2 separate regions of the Homo sapiens genome follow, and region 2 is linked to region 1. Evidence: promoter capture Hi-C in human tissues and cell types (Jung and others, 2019). All regions are on one chromosome and are shown on one strand. The core of a region is centred on a gene start or on the middle of the fragment in contact, and the rest is flanking DNA. Distances in the headings are between cores, read along the strand shown. Region 1 holds the start of MRPS23 (mitochondrial ribosomal protein S23). Region 2 overlaps MSI2 (musashi RNA binding protein 2).

Region 1 (2,700 bases), core at 26-2,525:
AGAAGGCCGGCATAATGATCACCATAAGCTTGGAGTCAGAGATGTGATTCCCAGATCTGCCACCCTCCTATATATTTAGTAATTACAAGAAGTTAGCTAATTTCCTTGAGCTTCGCAGTCTCCTTGAATAAAATGGAAACAAGAATGCCTTCCTTACAAGTTAGAGTAAGGCCTTTAGAGAATGAGATAATGCTTGCAAAGAGCTTAGTACAGTGCCTGGCCCAAAGCAGATGCCCAGAAACATGCGGCTATAATTGCAATGATCTTTCGGTTGCTGGGCTCCAGATTCCACTTTTCAGAACTTCAGTTTCACTATGAGGAAGGGGTGCTGCCTCCCTAATTTGGCTAGATAAGCCTTCTCCACAGGGCAAACCCCTGACTCAATTTCATGTTTGAATTCCCAGACTGCTACCGAAACCTTCCCTTCTGAAGTTCTGTTGCCTCCTGTCCACTACAGGGCTGAGCACTCACGCTCTAATCCGATCCTCGTGGTACCAGATGTCTTGGATGGGAGCTTTGGCTTTGCCATATCGCACTCGAGGCCTTTGGAAGACGGGCTCCCTCAGCGGGGGAAAGGCGTCATATACGTCAAACCACAGGGGCTTCTCCTTCAGCACCCCGGCCCGAACCAGGTCCCGAGTCCTTAGGGAGGGAACAGAACGAAACTGGGTCACTTGCAGTAGCCTGCCAAAGCCCCTGAATCAGTCTAGCACAGTTTGGGACATTAAAGGTATTATGCGGTCTGCAACACAGAACGGGGAAGGACTGCTCCCCACCTACAGAGAAGATCTGTCCACATCCCAAACCAAACTTAACAACGCTCAGGAGAGTTAAATCCCTCTATCTTCTTTTGTGCGTCCCACCCACGTTCGGTCACGGAAAAATGCAAAGAGCGGTCTTGCATGACCTGATAAGGAAGGCCCATCAGGCTCTTCCTCCCTTCCTCTTCCTAGAGACCTCCACTCGGGGAGAGGCAGCTGCAATAATCTTTAACATGACACATAAATTCAAGGAGAGGCATCCTCAGGCACAACTATTCGGAGCCAGGAGAAAACATGAGAGGGCCTCACCCAGCTCAGCCCCCGCACCCTGCAATACGCCTCGCCCTGCTCAGGTCCGCTCCAAGGAAGAGCGTGACCGGCTGAGAACCCCAGCCTGGGGGAGGCACCCTCAGCCCACCACGGCTGGGAGCACACACCGAGAGAAGATGCTCCCTACGGTTTCCAGCCGGCTGCCTGCCATGATCTGCGCCTGGTACCGAGCGTGACTAGCTGCTACCGGAACCGGAAGCGGCTGCTCCAGGTAAAGGGCGCATAAGTTGCTGGCCGAGCCAAGGATCGCTGGGCTTTCACCGCAGCCCCTGCGGGAGAGCGGCGCAGGCAGAAGCAAGTGATAGGCCGAACGGGCGCGCTCCGAGGTTACTTGCCAGGTTCAGGCAGGAGCACTCGATAGCCGAGCCAAAAGGGCAGGAGCGAGCCAAAGCCGGACAGAAGTAATAAATGACCGAGCTGTGGGAGGGATTCATCATGATGGTTGCTTTACTCTCTCTCGCCTTGTTGAGCCAACTCCTCTGAAAAGGTGGGGCCGCGCGGAGGAGAAGTAGTGGGGCAGAGCAGGGGTGAAGCGCAGCCTACAGTCCTAGGGGAGCCAACAAAGGCCGAGATTTGAGGTCACCAGCTCTAGGCCCAGGCTGAGCCTAATGTTGTTTAGAGTCACAGACTACGCAGAAGAAAACCAAGGCCGGGGAGGGGCCGTCACTTGCCCAGCGTCGTGCTAGATCTCGGGCCTCCGCCTCTGGCTGTGTAGTGCTCCCCACTAAGCCCCTCGTCCCCGGAGTGCCACCTGCATCCACGCTAACTAGGATGCTGGCTGCAACTCGTGTTTCCCGCGGCCGGTGTCGCGGGCTACCTCCTCCTTGGAACTCGAAAAGTGAAAGTGTCCGGAACAAACAGACGCCGAGAGGGAAACGAAAAAATCTGGAGAAAGTCATCTCTCAGTGTTAAACTGTAAAAAAATATAAACTGTGTGTAGCATACCCTTTGACCCAGTAATCATATTTCGGGGAAAGAACCCCTTAGAAATTAAAGCATCAATTCATGAGGATGTTTGTGCAAGGATCATCGTTGCAGCATTGTTTGTAGTGGGAAAAAAAATCCATCAGATGAGAAATAGCTGGAAAATTATTGTTCATACTTTCTTTGGAACCCTATGCAGCTATTAAAATGAATGAGCTAGATCCACATGTATTTACCAAGGTTAAGGTACATGACTTATGTTTAAATGAAAAACGAAGTTGCAAAGAAACATGTTTAGTGGAATCTCAACGTGTTAGAAAAAAAAAAGGAAAAAGAAACACCTCTATATATGTTTGTGTTTGAGGATAGAAATTCTGCAGAAGGACACCCAAGGCTGTGAACATTGGATATCTCGGAGTGAAACTGCAGGCAGGCAAGGGAGAATTTTTTCTTCCTTTACACATGCTTCAGAGTTTGACTTGTAAAGAGATTGTATTCATATTTGAACTTTTAATCCAATGAATGTTTTGAATCACACACAATGTCTCCTGGGAGCCTAGTCAAGTCATCCTAGAGTCCTCCCACTCTGAGGCTGGTGAAGGGGAGGACGGGACTGTTTGATGAGTAGTTACTGCTTGTGTGTGTTATCTTACTGAATCCACATACCTTCCCATAAGGTAGCTAT
Region 2 (2,700 bases), core at 148-2,647, 580 kb before region 1:
CAGTGAGATGTCATTTCTCAATGTGGACATCACAGATTGCCTGTATAACCCCAGTGTGTGTCCCGTGGCTCAGAGCAGTCTGACCTGTGACTTCATAGATGGTATCTGCTTGGGGTCGCCTTTGGCTGAGTGTCTGCTTGGTGAAGAATATGCATTTTTGGAATCATGATCTCTGCTTTCCGTGTGGTGTGAAGTGCGCAGGTGTGGTCTTGGGGCTGAGCACCCTGTGGTATGTTGTAGCAGCAGCCTCACTTGGTCGGTCCAGCTGGGACAGTTGTCCCACTGGGTCCAGAGTAGGATAAGATATTTTCCATTCTCCCTTCTTTTGAAGATAGCACCAGGCTTCCAACCATCTGGAATGTTAGCCTTAGGGTGGATGCCTGGCTGCTATCTTGCTTTATTTTAGCTGTGAGATTTTGAATAGTTAAAAAGAAAAATCCTAATTCAGAATAATGACTGTCATTTATTGTGAGTTTATATGTTATAGGCATAGTACCGAGACTATACACTTAGTCTTCTTTAATCCTTACAACAATCCTTTGAAATAGTTGGTATTATCTCCGTTTGACAGTGGGTAAACTGGGGCCTGAGAGGGCAGACAGCTTTCTAGAACCATAGAACTAGTAAGGTTCAGGGTTGGCCTTTGGACCAAAGTCTCTCTGAATCCCAAGGCTTTGTTCTCCTCTCTGCTAAGCCTTGCTGCATCCAACATGAGTGGGCAGAGTTGAGGTTGCCACTTTGCCTGATGGCTATAAAATGCTCAGGCTGAGGAATAGAATTTGTGATAGTCTAGCTGGAAAGCTTCAGGTTAATTTTTGTTACCTGTTTTCTGAGAGCTTGTTTAGCATAGGTAAGTGCCACTTACCAGCTATGGCATTTTAGACAAGTCACTTAGTGGTTTTGCACCTCCACTTGTACCTGTTAAATGGGATAGCAACCGTCCCTCCATTGTAGAATTGCTAAGGGTAAGATGGACTGAGCTACTGCATATGAATGGCCTAGGGTGATAGCTGCATGTTGTGGGTACAGTATAAGCATTCATCATCTGTTACTGTCCCCGAAAAATGTCCCTGCCCCCATCATCAGGGGACCTTATAACCGAGCAGCTCGTGGGTTGATTAGCACTGTTGCTCCTTTCTAGGGTGAGGGATAGAACAGCACATTGAGATTGGAAAATTCTGTGTCAGTGGCTTGGCCTGCTCATGAGGTCCTGGCTCTCGAGGCGAGATAGCATGCAGCCTTTATCTTGGGGATGCTTGATGGGCATTAGGAATTCATTTCCTTTTCCGTATCTGATGCCTGTGTTTTTGCTGCCTCTGAGAGTAAAGTCCCGGGGAGCAGCTAGGGAACAGCTGAGACACTGCTGTGTGAGAGGTCTCCCCATGAGTCTTCTCTCTCCCTGTACTGGTCTTTATCTGCCCGGGGGTAGCTCTACCAATGACTGATCTGAAAGCATCACATTCATTTATTTGTCACTGGCTGTGACAGGCAAGTTAATGCTAATGGATTCTTTTTTTAGCCTGTTGTCTGGGATGAGTTTCTCTCAAACGTCCTGAAATCTAAGGCATTAGGAGAATGTGTAACTTTTATGGCAGGGGAGGATTTATAAAATAAATAGGGTTTTGTGTGCAAGGACCTTAAATTTAGGTTAGGGGTATGAGCAGCCAAGGAGCGGGGGTGTCGGGCAAGCACAGAGTCTTCTTTTTAAGAAATCCATTCAAGAGCTCTAAATTGCTGTTTCTGTTTCAATTATGTGACAATTTCAAGGGTTTAGAAAAATCTAATAAAATGGTCTTGATGATGCATTCTGGGGAGAGAGTGCTTCAGAAGATCTAGGAGAATAAATTCCTTGGGGGTCAAGAGATTCTCGTTCCTGCCACCTTGGGCCTTCCTTCATCTGGGTTTTTACATTTTTATTGTTTTGAAGGGCAGAAAATGGTGTAGGAATGTATTCAGGGCTTCATCCATACCCTCCACCGAAATGAATTATTCTCTTTTGGCAATTGCAAAATAGACGGGCCACTGCAATCTTTTTTTTTTTTTTTTTTTTTTTAAGCTGACATATTGTAAACGACTTTCAGACCATGATTTGTGTGTGTAGTGATGTTGAATAAAGCACCAAAGAAAAGAAACTGAAGGAGGGGAAAGAGTGAGGAGGGAGGCGCTATAAAAGTTTTTTTCTTTTCTGCCATCAAAGCTTTTGATAGTTTCCTAAAGCACAGAAGTTTACAATGGAAGCGGGCTTTTGGGCCGCCTAGGGGAACAGAGTGCAGAAAGACCTAGTGTAGCAAAATGTGATGCTGAGTGACATTAATGAGGTGACCGCTCTGGTGGGAGGGAGGCAAGGAACCAGCCAAGTAGCAGTTCCCATGACTTGCTCTCAGCTGAGTGTTTCCTTCTGCATGCTTGCATGGGCGCCTGTGTGTGTTTGTGCATGCACACGTTGTGTTTCCTAAGTCTTCAGATGGAATTTTTAACAACAAACCCTGTTTGGTTTACTGTGGTGTTCTCCACCCTAAAGAGGCCGTGAATGTTGAGTTTTGTCCTTTATTCCCACCTGCTGAAAAGTAAAGTTTTCAACTTAGCGGCATTTTGTTTTTACTTTCTGGATACCTGCCGGAGCCTGGCTGGGCGGCGTGTCAGGCCAACATCACAGAGCTGGGCACTGTTGGAACACCAAACCAAGAGTGTGAAAAGTCA

What was found. The method cuts DNA at HindIII sites, captures the fragments that hold promoters and counts their contacts. A contact is called where the count stands out against the background at its distance.
Region 2: a contact is called between a fragment that was not itself captured here and the fragment with the promoter of MRPS23 in region 1, in 1 of the 25 tissues and cell types used here (dorsolateral prefrontal cortex).

Annotation. Positions count from the first base shown.
Region 1 is chr17:57,848,769-57,851,468 of GRCh38, forward strand. MRPS23 (mitochondrial ribosomal protein S23) reads right to left here and starts at 1,276. Exons shown (of 5, transcript NM_016070.4): 1 at 1,199-1,276; 2 at 472-642. The coding sequence starts at 1,242. RefSeq lists enhancers at 1,257-1,586, 1,262-1,771. The HindIII fragment of the contact is 5,598 bases long and covers 1-2,700 here.
Region 2 is chr17:57,269,715-57,272,414 of GRCh38, forward strand. All of the region lies in intron 5 of MSI2 (musashi RNA binding protein 2), which reads left to right. Among named protein-coding and RNA genes, the nearest start is that of MSI2, 15 kb to the left of the region's middle. The HindIII fragment of the contact is 3,689 bases long and covers 1-2,700 here.